3 separate regions of the Homo sapiens genome follow, and all the other regions are linked to region 1. The links are contacts of gene promoters, found by promoter capture Hi-C in human tissues and cell types (Jung and others, 2019). All regions are on one chromosome and are shown on one strand. The core of a region is centred on a gene start or on the middle of the fragment in contact, and the rest is flanking DNA. Distances in the headings are between cores, read along the strand shown. Region 1 holds the start of SERTAD4 (SERTA domain containing 4). Region 2 overlaps SYT14 (synaptotagmin 14). Region 3 overlaps HHAT (hedgehog acyltransferase).

Region 1 (3,659 bases), core at 751-3,250:
AAGCTCCAAAGATGCCAGTGCACCCATGCTGATAACTTAGTCTCATGTTATTTCTCAATTTTATGCTTAATTTGCTCCTTTTGATTTTATGTATTTTCACACAGCCAAGTGTACATGGGGATTTACCCATAGTCCTTTAAATGCCATAAAACTTTAATATAGGGAGATAAAAACCATAATAAGCCATGCCTCCAAACCCTCACATTTAGTTCTTTTGAGTTTGACAATAACCAGTTTTAGATTATTTGGAAATTTGGATTTCTACGTACTTGCACTGCTTTAAATGCCCTTGTGCCTTTCCTAACCCTCCTCTCCCACCCAGATGAAAATTATACTCTACTCTTAACCTGGACATGCAACTTCCATTGACTGCACAAAATGGCATCTTTACAATTCTTAAATTATCATCATAATGGCCCACATCATGCATGAGCCAATGCAATTTAATATGGTTCAGAATAAAGCCAAGATGGATGCCCAATTCCCAATTTTAGGCATGCAACCCTGGAATGTCTTTTGGAAAAAATGAAATAATGCTCTTGGTAGGCTGTTGGGTTCATCTGTTTTAAGCATAATTGCCATCTCTCAGCTTCCTAATACCCTTAAAACCTCTGAGAGTCTTTAATGTACAAAGTTCAACAAAAACACCTTCAAAACAAATTAGTTCTAATTATGTTTAATATTGGTTTGCTGCTTTATTGAATAATCTACATTTGCTTTTAAAAAAAGGAAATTCACTTAACTGCATGTCAGTCACCCAAGTTTTAAGTGTACAAATGAAATGGAAAACATTTATTACACAAATTTAATTACAATTCTAAGAAATAAACATGCAAATTAGATAGAGTTCAATTTGCAGATGCTAATCCTCATCCTTGATCTTGTTCCTTCCTCCCTTGATTTTCAGTCTGTGCGTCTTCTTGATTCCTAGGGAGCCAGGCAGCCAGAGGTCTGGTTTTTCACAGTCGGAGGATCACTGTTTTAAAGAAGTGTTATATTTAGCACATCTGGTATAGTGGCAGTAAACAAACATTATAGTCTTTGTAACACTTTTGTGCAGGTGCCTTCTCCCGATTTTATTAGGTCTATGCCTTCCAAGCCTCTGCCTTCATTACACCTGAAATGACCCATCTCGACTATGGAGGGGTCCCTAGACAGAAGTTATGAATTAATGATTTTAAAAAATAAACTCTGAGGCCACTATAGGAGAAAATTACTATTTGCAAAATATTCTGATTCCAAGGCTTAAATTACATTCTCTTGAGCAAGGACAATCTCTTGTATTACTTTTTATTTCCTGGAGGTTTTCCCTGGAGGCTCCCCACCCAGAAAGGGTTGCCAATTCAAGTTGCAGCAGGACCAAGGTTGCTTTTTTTTTTTTTTTTAATACGTACGCAGCTCAGGAGGGAAACGGGCGGGGGCGGGCGGCGAGGGAGAATAACTGTTTGGTCCTGCAAAGACATCTGTTTCTCATCTCCGTTTGCTGTGGCAAAGGAGAAGAAAGTCTTTTGCAAAGGGTGGGAAAGGCACAGATTTTTTTTTTAATCACACGCACACACAACAACAACAAAACTAAACCAAATTTAAAAAGACAAGATATCTCGGAAGGTTCCAGAGTGAATACATTATTCGGCTGGAGCCAAGCCCCCAGGGCTAGGGCGGGAGCCCGAGAGCGCGTGGGGTCTGGGCTGCGGGCTGGAGCTGGGCCCGCGTGTCCCCGGGCACCGGGAGGGGAGGGGAGGAAAAGGAGGAGGGAGGGCGGGAAGCAGGGAAGGAGGCAGGGGGCGGGCTGGGGTGGGGGTGCGGGAAAGGCGCCCCGTGTGCAGCCTGAGGAGCGGCGGCGGCGGCCTGAGCAGAGGGAGGGAGGGAGAGCGGGCGCGCTTGTCATGTTCCCTCTCTCACCCTGGGGGCATCCTGCAGAACCTCTCCTCGGAAATCCACGGGGAAATGGCAAACAGGATTGACGGGTTTCACACGCTCCTCGCTAGACAGAGCCGCTCATTACCATAACCGTCTGCAGCGACGGCGGCGCAGCGCCCCAGTCGCGGCGGCGGGACCTGCCGGGACCCTTGCCCGCCGCGCACCCGCAGTCACCGCCGAGCGGGCGGCCGGGCCGGGACCCGCGAGTGTGCACCGGCGGCCGGGCTGGCGCCGAGCCCAGAGCGGACCAGCAGCAGCTCAAGCGCTGCGGCCGCCGCCTCCCCGCTGACCCCGCGGTAAGAGCCGGGCTGGGCGCGGGCCGCGGGGGCGGGAGGGCCGGGCAGGGTGGAGGGCGAGGGCCCCCCGGGGCTCCTGCCCTCGCAGACGGGCACCCACGCGGCCTCCCGCGCGCCCTCTTGGCACCAGGGCTGTGCCGAGGTCACCGAGTGGACTCGCAGCGGCCGGAGCGGAGTCGGGGCGGCGTGGGGGCCAAGGCACAGCTGGGCGCGGAGGCGGCGCGGGCTTTTCCCTGGGCTAGCGTGCGCCGCGGCGCCTTCACCAGGGCGGGAACCGCCGCCTCCTCTAGGGCTGCTCGGGCTGCCACCCGCGCGCACCGAGACAACTCCAGGGGCGGGTGGGGTCAGAAGCTCTGGTGAGACCTCATGGTCCTCCGTGGCCGCTTAGTCCCTCATCGTAGGGGAAGGGGTTAAGTAGGAGGGGTGCCCCCAGGTCCGGATGCCGCGGCGCTTGGCAGGTGGGGAGAGAGGGATTGTGGATGTCAGGAGCGCGCGTTTGCAAGAAAAAGGAATTGATGCAGTAGCTGACACCTTCTGTCCCCCGCCACCTCCGCCCCCGCACCCTCCTCCCAGGCAGCAGAGCTGCGCTGCGGGCGGCGGCGGCTCCTCTGTCCTCAGCTCACCTCCTCGGCGGGCTGAGGCTGCTGCCCGCCTGGTCCACGCCTCCGCCTCTCGCTTCCCTTCCTCCCCTCCCGCCTCTTCGGCCCTAGCAACTTTCCGAGTGCCCAGCTGTGGTCGCAGAAGCAGGGAATAGGCGTCCTCGCCGCCAGGTCCCACGGGCGCAGGGCGCTCCCGCAACCGCGGGCTTCCAGCGGGTTTGGCCGGCAAGGGAGGGAGGGAAGGCCGGGCCGACATCTGCTGCGGGCTGGAGCGCGGGGGCCCGGGCCAGCCCCGCCAGAGCCCTGCCAGCCGCTGTGAGTCATTTCCTTGGAATCCTACCTTTGGTGTTTATTTCCCTTAGAAGGAAACTTGGTTTTTTTTTTAAAAAAAAAAAAGGATAAGACATAAAGAATAATAATAGCTCTTATTCTTCAGAAGAGGCACACGGCTGCGGCACCGTAGAAAGACAACTTGCCTTTGTTCCCGGACACTTGGGGTGTTGTTTACTTTCTCCTGCGGCCAGCGGCCGACCGGGCGCTGCTGGCTACCCGGGGAGGGGCTGAGGGCTGCGGCACCGACACCCCGGGGGTGTGTCTGTGCGGGAGCCAGGATGTGGTTGGTGGCTGCCGCCCGCCTTCAAGAGGTCGGCCCTCCAAACCTCGGACCCCACCCCCGCAACCGCCACACACACACACACCTTGGGCACCAGGGCTCGGGCATCGGAGCACCCCTTCGTGCTCTTTAGGCCCAGCACCTGCAGCCCCAACCACAGGACCCAGCTTCAAGCTCTTGGCCTCGCGGGGCTGCAGCTGAGAAATGTACTTCCCAGGGCAGACAGGTGTA
Region 2 (3,659 bases), core at 772-3,271, 120 kb before region 1:
TTTTGATGGCCCTTGCAGTGAATGACTCCAGCTTCCTTTGGAAGTAAAGCAGCCTTGAGAAGAGTTTTTATTAAAGAGGCATTAATGATGGAGGACCCTTGCGTAGTGAGGAAACTTCTTTTTGCCTATATAACAGCATGGTGGTGCAGGATATGGAAGGCATATTTAGAGTCAGTATAAATATTGACATGTAGTCTTTTGCAAGAGTGAGGGCTCGAGTCAAGGCAATGAGTTCAGCTTGCTGAGAGGTGGTGGAAGGGGGCAGAAAGTATATGCGTCAGGTGTGAGGAAGAAAATAGATTTTGCAAGTTTTGAGAACTGTAGAGAGTGAGTTGAGCATAGTTTTTTATTTTGAGGGCCTCTAAAAGTATTAAAGCAGCGGCAGCCGCCGCACGCAGACATGAGAGCTAAGCTAAAACACTAAGGTCAAGTTGTTTGGACAAAAAGGCTACAGGGCGTGGTCCCGGCTCTTGTGTAAGAACTCTGACCGCACAGCCCTGCACTTCGGCTGTGTGTAATGAAAAGGGAGTGATGAGTTAGGGAGAGCTAGTGTGGGAGCTGTTTTTTAAGGAATGGAAAGGGGAGTGGGGAAAGGATTTAGGATCTGTGGGGTCAGCTAGGTTTATCTAGAGCAGAATAATGGGTTGTGGAGGGGTTGTGGAGGGAGGTACTGAGGATAGGAGAGTATATGGGTTTGGCACCATGAGGTGGATAGGCAAAACAATTTAGTTGATAAGGCACAGATCCTGAACTAACTTGTAAGACTTGTCCGGTTTTTGGACAGGTAAAATGGGTGAATTGTAAGGAGAGTTTATAGGCTTTAAAAGGCCATGCTGTAACAGGCAAGTGATAACAGGCTTTAATCCTTTTAAAGCATACTGTGGGATGGGATATTGGTGTTGAGCGGGGTAAGGGTGATTAGGTTTTAATGAGATGGTAAGGGGTGCATGATCGGTTGCTAAGGAGGGAGTAGAGGTGTCCCATACTTGTGGATTAAGGTGGGGAGATAGAAGGGGAGGATGTGAAGGAAGCTTTGAACTGGGGAAAAGGGTGGCAATGAGGTGTGGCTGTAGCCTAGGAATAGTCAGGGAAGCAGATAATTTAGTTGAAATGTCTCCACCTAATAAGGGAGCTGGGCAGGTGGGGATAACTAAAAAGGAGCGCATAAAAGAATGTTGTCCAAGTTGGCACCAGAGTTGGGGAGTTTTAAGAGGTTTAGAAGCCTGGCCATCAATACCCACAACAGTTATGGAGGCAAAGAAAATAGGCCCTTGAAAAGAAAGTAATGTGGAGTTGGTAGCCTCCACATTGATTAAGAAGGGGACGGACTTACCTTCCACTGTAAGAGTTACTGAAAGAGTCTGTGTTGGTCCAGGAGGCTTCTGAGGCAATCGGGCAGTGTCAGTCTTCAGCCGCTATGCCGAGAAGATCTGGGAAGGAGTCAGTCAGAGAGCCTTGGGCTAGAGTTCCAGGGACTCTGGGAGTGGCTGCCAGGCAAGCTGGACAGTCCGATTTCCAGTGGGGTCCCTCACAGATGGGACATGGTTTAGGAGGAATCCCGGGCTGCAGGCATTCCTTGGCCCAGTGGCCAGATTTCCAGCACTTAAAGCAAGATCCTGGGGGAGGAGGTCCTGAAGGAACGCCTGACCACTGTGGCTTAGGTGTTTTGAAGTTCTTGTGTGCTGGAGATGTGGCTGGGGTTCCTCTCACAGCAGAGGCAGGTAATTGCAACTCTTCTCTATTATTGTACACCTTGAAGGCGAGGTTAATCAAGTCCTGTTGTGGGGTTTGAGGGCTGGAATTTAATTTTTGGAGCTTTATTTAATATTGGGAGCAGATTGGGTAATAAAATGCATATTGAGAATAAGATGGCCTTCTGACCCTTCAGGGTCTGGGGCTGTAAAGCATCTAAGGGTTGTTGCCAAACGGGCCATGAACTGGGCTGAGTTTTTATATTTGATAAAAAGGAGCCTAAACGCTAACTGATATGGGAGAGGTCGGATAAAGAAAAAGGAGCATTAACCTTGACTGTGCCTTTAGCTCCAGCCACCTCTTTAAGATGAAATTGTTGGGCAGGTCAGGGAGGGCTAGTCATGGAACAAAACTGTAAACTGGACCAGGTGTGAGGAGGGGAGGTGATAAAAGGATTATAGGGTGGGGGAGCAGAGAATGAGGAAGAATTGGGACCTGGCTCGGCCTAGCAAGGAGCAGCCTGGGGAGGAGGGGAGAGGTCAGATGGGTCCATAGAAAAGGAAGATTGGAAAGACTTAGCAATGCTTAGGGTTGGGACTGAGGGGACAGGCAGGAGGGAAAGAAGGAATATTTGGGACGAGTTGCATTGGGAACAGAGACTAGGGAGGGACTGATGTGTAAAAGAATGCCTGGACATCAGGCATCTCAGACCATTTGCCCATTTTACGACAAGAATTATCTAGATCTTGTAGGATGGAAAAATCGAAAGTGCCATTTTCTGGCTATTTGGAACCATTGTCGAGTTTGTATTGGGGTTAAGCAGCATTGCAGAACAAAATAAGGCATTTAGGTTTTAGGTCAGGTGTGAGTTGAAGAGGTTTTAAGTTCTTGAGAACACAGGCTAAGGGAGAAGAAGGAGGAATGGAGGGTGGAAGGTTGTCTATAGTGAAGGATGCAAGCCCAGAGAAAAGAGAGGGTAGAGACACAGAGAGAAGGGTTGGGGGGTGCTTGCCCCCCAGGAAAGTGGTGCTTGCCACTAAGGGTGAAGGATCAAGGCAGGCATCCCTGCAGTGATCAGACACCTCTGAAACATGGGTGAATAATCAAGCAGGCGTCCCCGCAGTGATTAAACACCAAGGGAAGACTGTCTTCCAGAGTCCGTTACCAGCACCGGAGTTTTGGGTTCATGGATAAAATGTGTCTTCTCTGTCTCTACCAGAAAAGGAAAGGAACTGAAATTAAGAGAAGGGAGAGATTGAAGGATGGCGGCAAGGTTGAAAGGAGAAAGAGGTTGAGGGATAGTGAGAGAGGTTGGAGAAGAGAGTAAAAAGAGGCCACTTACCCGATTTAAAATTGGTGAGATGTTCCTTGGGCTGGTTGGTCTGAGGACCCGAGGTCGTAGGTGGATCTTTCTCATGGAGCAAAGAGCAGGAGGACAAGGGATTGATCTCCCAAGGGAGGTCTCCCAGTCTGAGTCACGGCACCAAATTTCATGTGCATCTGTGTGAAGAGACCACCAGGCTTTGTGTGAGCAATAAAGCTTTTTAATCATCTGGGTGCAGGCAGGCTGAGTCCGAAAAGAGAGTCAGCGAAGAGAGGTAGGGGTGGGCCGTTTTATAGGATTTGGGTGGGTAGTGGAAAATTATAGTCAATAGGGGTTGTTCTCTGGTGAGCAGGGGCGGGGGTCACAAGGTGCTCAGTGGGGGAGCTTCTGAGCCAGGAGAAGGAATTTCACAAGGTAATGTCATCAGTTAAGGCAGGAACCAGCCATTTTCACTTCTTTTGTCATTCTTCAGTTACTTCAGGCCATCTGGATGTATATGTGCAGGCTTGGGCCCAGAGGCCTGACACTAATTATTGCTGTATAAATGTTGAATGAATGGATGGGTGAATAAGTTCATAGGGTATGTATATTATCTCTGAGTTTATTGCCTGTAGTTTCATTTTTGCAGCTAATCTTATATTAT
Region 3 (3,659 bases), core at 643-3,142, 110 kb after region 1:
TGCTCCTCCCATAAAGAAGTATGGTCTGTTTTCTCCTCCTTGAATCCGGGCTGGTCTTTGGACTTGCTTTGACCAATAATGTGTTCTGTGAACTCTGGAGCCTGGTCCTTAAGGGATGTTGCACCTCTTGCCTCTGTTCTTTTGGAACCCTGAAACCCCACTGCTGTGAAAAAGCCAAGTCTAGCCTACCAGAGGAGGAGCCCTGGCCTGGGGGAGAAGGGAGGTGACTTGTGTGAGCTGGCGCCAAATGCCAGACATGTGCATGAGGTCATCATGGCCCCCTCCAGCCCCAGTGGAGTTGTGTGGTGACAGAAGTCACATGAGTGACCTCAGGAGGGACATGAACAGAACTGTCCAGACTGCCATCCCACAAAATCCTTAAAAAGAATAAATGTTCATTGTTCTAAGGCATCACATGTTGTGATGGTTTCTTATGCAGCAATACATAACTAATACATAATATGTTGGTGCGGATGTGGAAGTAGTGGGTATATATTTTAAACTATTCTGTAATTAGACTTTTTTCCCCACTCCAGTGCACCTCTTCCAGTCTATCTAGTCATTCTTCTGTGTTGGTGAAACCTTTCTGGGTTTGGAGAAGTGTTTCCTCTTAGTATTATGTGGGTTGAAGAATAAGTCTTTGTAAGACTCTTAAATGGGGACTGGGCACAGTGGCCCACACCTGTAATTCCAGCAGTTTGGGAGGCTGCGGCGGGAGGATCACTCGAGGCCAGGAGTTCAAGACCAGCCTGGGCAACATGGCAAAACCCAGTCTCTACTAAAAACACAAAAATTAGTGGGGCAGCACACTCCGGCCTGGGGGATAGAGCAAGACTCTGTCTCAGAAAAAAAAAAAAAAAAAAAAAAAAAAGACTCAAGTGGGGTTTGGAGAGAATTGTGATATGGGAATCTGGACTTGGTGGTTTTCTTGGAGAAAATCATGTAATTTAGAGTCTACAAAATGGGATTCAGTTTCATGAAAATTGGACCCTGGAAAAGGCAAAAGTCTCATACCACTTTTTCCGAATATGCTAGAATATTGCACTACTATTTCATTTTCTTTAAAGCCGTTGTCATTTCAGTGGGCATGTGCTTCTTTCACTTTTATTGCTTGTGGTTTCCAGAGTGCTCATTTGTTCCTGAATTTAGAGCTATTTCAATTTTACTCTTATCTCTGCATAACTGCTGACTTTCCCCTCTTATTTCCAAGGTAAATCGGTTAGGTTTAGTTTGCCTTTTTCAGTAAATCTTTTAAGGAATGTATGTGAGTTAGATATTTCATGTGTATTTTGATTACATTTTATTGATTTAAATTTTTTTATCAGAGAGTGTCTAACGTTATGCATAACGTTTAAAAATTCTATTACATTTAGACCACTTATATTCTAGCTTTCCTAATGGATTGATTTCATTATAGATTTTGGAAAAAATGAGTCCAGTACACTCTGTAAGAATAGTGAGGTGGCTGAGGGAAGGCTCTGGAGTTAGACTTACTGGGTATGAATCTAAGCTTTGCTGCTTACCAGCTGTGTGATTTGGGGCGGGTTTACTTATCCTTTCTGGGCCTTGGTTTCCTCTTGTGTTAAGTGAGGTTATCAGAAGCACCAACCTCAAAGGTTTGTTATGAAGATTAAGTGAGATAATACTTGTAAAGTGCCTTTTCAGCATAGGAAATCTGTAAATAGTACTTGTTATAGTACAGCTATTACTAAAGCATAAGAAAACTCAGTAGAGGGAAATCTTCATTTAGGACATTAAGCAGTGAGTCAGTAGAAGTGACGATGGTGATGCTGGTATGGAGGGATTGTTAGCTTAATGATGAGAGCTGTCTTGTTAAAGTTCTCTGGTGCATGTGAGTATTGGGTTATAGCCCATTTAGTGCTTGATATCAAGATTTAAAAGCAGAAAAAATTTAAAATGGAAGTGTTGGAATCCATTAGTTGCCTGCATCAGAAGTAAAGCTAAAGTATTTTTGAAATGATATTGGAAGTTGCTGGGGGAAAAGCATCTTGCAGCCGTTATGTTTATGTATGTTTCAGGCTTTGGCAAGGTGTGCTGTACTTTTCTTCCAAGATCAAGGAACAGGATTTCTGCCTGTATGACAGTGGGGGTTGGGAATTTTGGTTCTAATTTTTGCTCCATTGCTGGCTTCTCTGTCCGTGGGTAGATCGCTGCTTCTTCCTGAGCAGGATTCTGATTCCTGAAAGGGACCTAAAAACTTAGCCCTCCTGAGAGGATCCGAGTAGATGGCATCTTTGAAAGCAGGTGGAGTGTTAAATTCCAAAGTAAATGCAAATGCAAGTGGCTCCAGTATAGAAAAAGTTCTGTGAGCTGAGAGATTCTTGCCATTTTACAGCTAAGATTTTATTCTGTGGCCCTCTTGAGTTCTATAATTCCCAGATAAATATATTTTTTGAAATATTCAACCTTGGGGTGTTTGTACCCAATTTGGAGGTGGAGAAAGCTCCCTATTCCTCCAGTCTGAATTCCTTCCCTCTGATTCCAGGGAAAACTTTGCTATGATTTCCTTTAACATCTAGTATTAAATGCACGTTCTACCGCTTTGTCCTCACTTGCCTCAAAATTCTCACTCTTTTCAACAACATTTAGCTTCAAGATCCTGTTGTCTTACAGCTTTGGAGTTGCTGTTTTATCTTCTTCATCTTCCTCTTTTTTCCCCCTACCAGCTTCTGGACTATTTTGATGCCAAGGACAACTCAATTTTTCCCCATCTGTGTGGCTTGGTTCCAGCACTCTCTCCACTTTCACTAAGGGCCTAAATCATCAACCTCCCTGCCTCTTGGGTCTACCACAGCATCAAGGGGCTGCTTTGTAGAGCTTCATTCAAATAATTTTATGTACTGGCTTGCAAGCCTGAGGTTTCTGCAGGAAATAAAATTTAAACATGAAATCGTATGTTTTAAGACTCCTTACCACTTGGCTCCTGTTCTCCCTTCCCTGAACCATCCACACTTTATCTTCTTTACAGTTCCGACCAGTATTCCCACACTGGGGAAGTGTTCTTAGACACATCTCACCATCACACATCCCTACAACCCTCCTTCACTATTACATATCAATAGTGCAATCTCATTTGTGTAGATTAATCAGGTAGACTGCTACTTAAACACAGGCTGTGTCCCTATAGATTGGCCGTTTTCTATAGAAATGATGCTGTAAGTGGTGATGACTTTTCTAGGCTATCTCACAGCTACCCACTTAGCTGATAATGTTGGTGCAGGACTGACTGCATGAAAACAGAAAAGAAACATCACTTACACATTTGAGTAAGAACCTCCTTGATTTCAGCCTGATTGCTCTGCCTAAAGAGGGACATGCTTGTTTAGAGTATGAGAAATGGAAACTTGGTAATTTTGTGAGAGAGTTTTTGGGAACCTCTAAGGGCCTGGACATTTTAAAAAGGTTCCAGTTATATTCCCAAATATATAGTTTTCCTTTTCTTTTACATTGTGTCATAAATCCCTTAAGACATATCTACTCTGATTTACTTTCTGGCTGCACAGCTGAAATAAACAGGGAAAACAAAGTAGGGAAATAATTTTCCTAAGATAAGTGGGCGAGTGTTGAAGGCCGAAAGAATGAGGGTCGTGATCAACTCAGTATACCACTGGAGACTATATGAGTAAACAGCAAACTGT

What was found. The method cuts DNA at HindIII sites, captures the fragments that hold promoters and counts their contacts. A contact is called where the count stands out against the background at its distance.
Region 2: a fragment that was not itself captured here is called in contact with the fragment with the promoter of SERTAD4 in region 1 in 2 of the 25 tissues and cell types used here (aorta and hippocampus).
Region 3: a contact is called between a fragment that was not itself captured here and the fragment with the promoter of SERTAD4 in region 1, in 2 of the 25 tissues and cell types used here (aorta and hippocampus).

Annotation. Positions count from the first base shown.
Region 1 is chr1:210,230,796-210,234,454 of GRCh38, forward strand. It overlaps SERTAD4 (SERTA domain containing 4), which reads left to right and starts at 2,001. Exons shown (of 4, transcript NM_019605.5): 1 at 2,001-2,216. It overlaps SERTAD4-AS1 (SERTAD4 antisense RNA 1), which reads right to left and starts at 3,090. Exons shown (of 2, transcript NR_024337.2): 1 at 2,840-3,090; 2 at 661-976. RefSeq lists an enhancer at 1,879-2,412. The HindIII fragment of the contact is 6,882 bases long and covers 1-3,659 here.
Region 2 is chr1:210,112,666-210,116,324 of GRCh38, forward strand. The region is part of intron 6 of SYT14 (synaptotagmin 14); the gene reads left to right. Among named protein-coding and RNA genes, the nearest start is that of SERTAD4, 120 kb to the right of the region's middle. The HindIII fragment of the contact is 4,534 bases long and covers 1-3,659 here.
Region 3 is chr1:210,339,398-210,343,056 of GRCh38, forward strand. All of the region lies in intron 1 of HHAT (hedgehog acyltransferase), which reads left to right. Among named protein-coding and RNA genes, the nearest start is that of HHAT, 12 kb to the left of the region's middle. The HindIII fragment of the contact is 7,127 bases long and covers 1-3,659 here.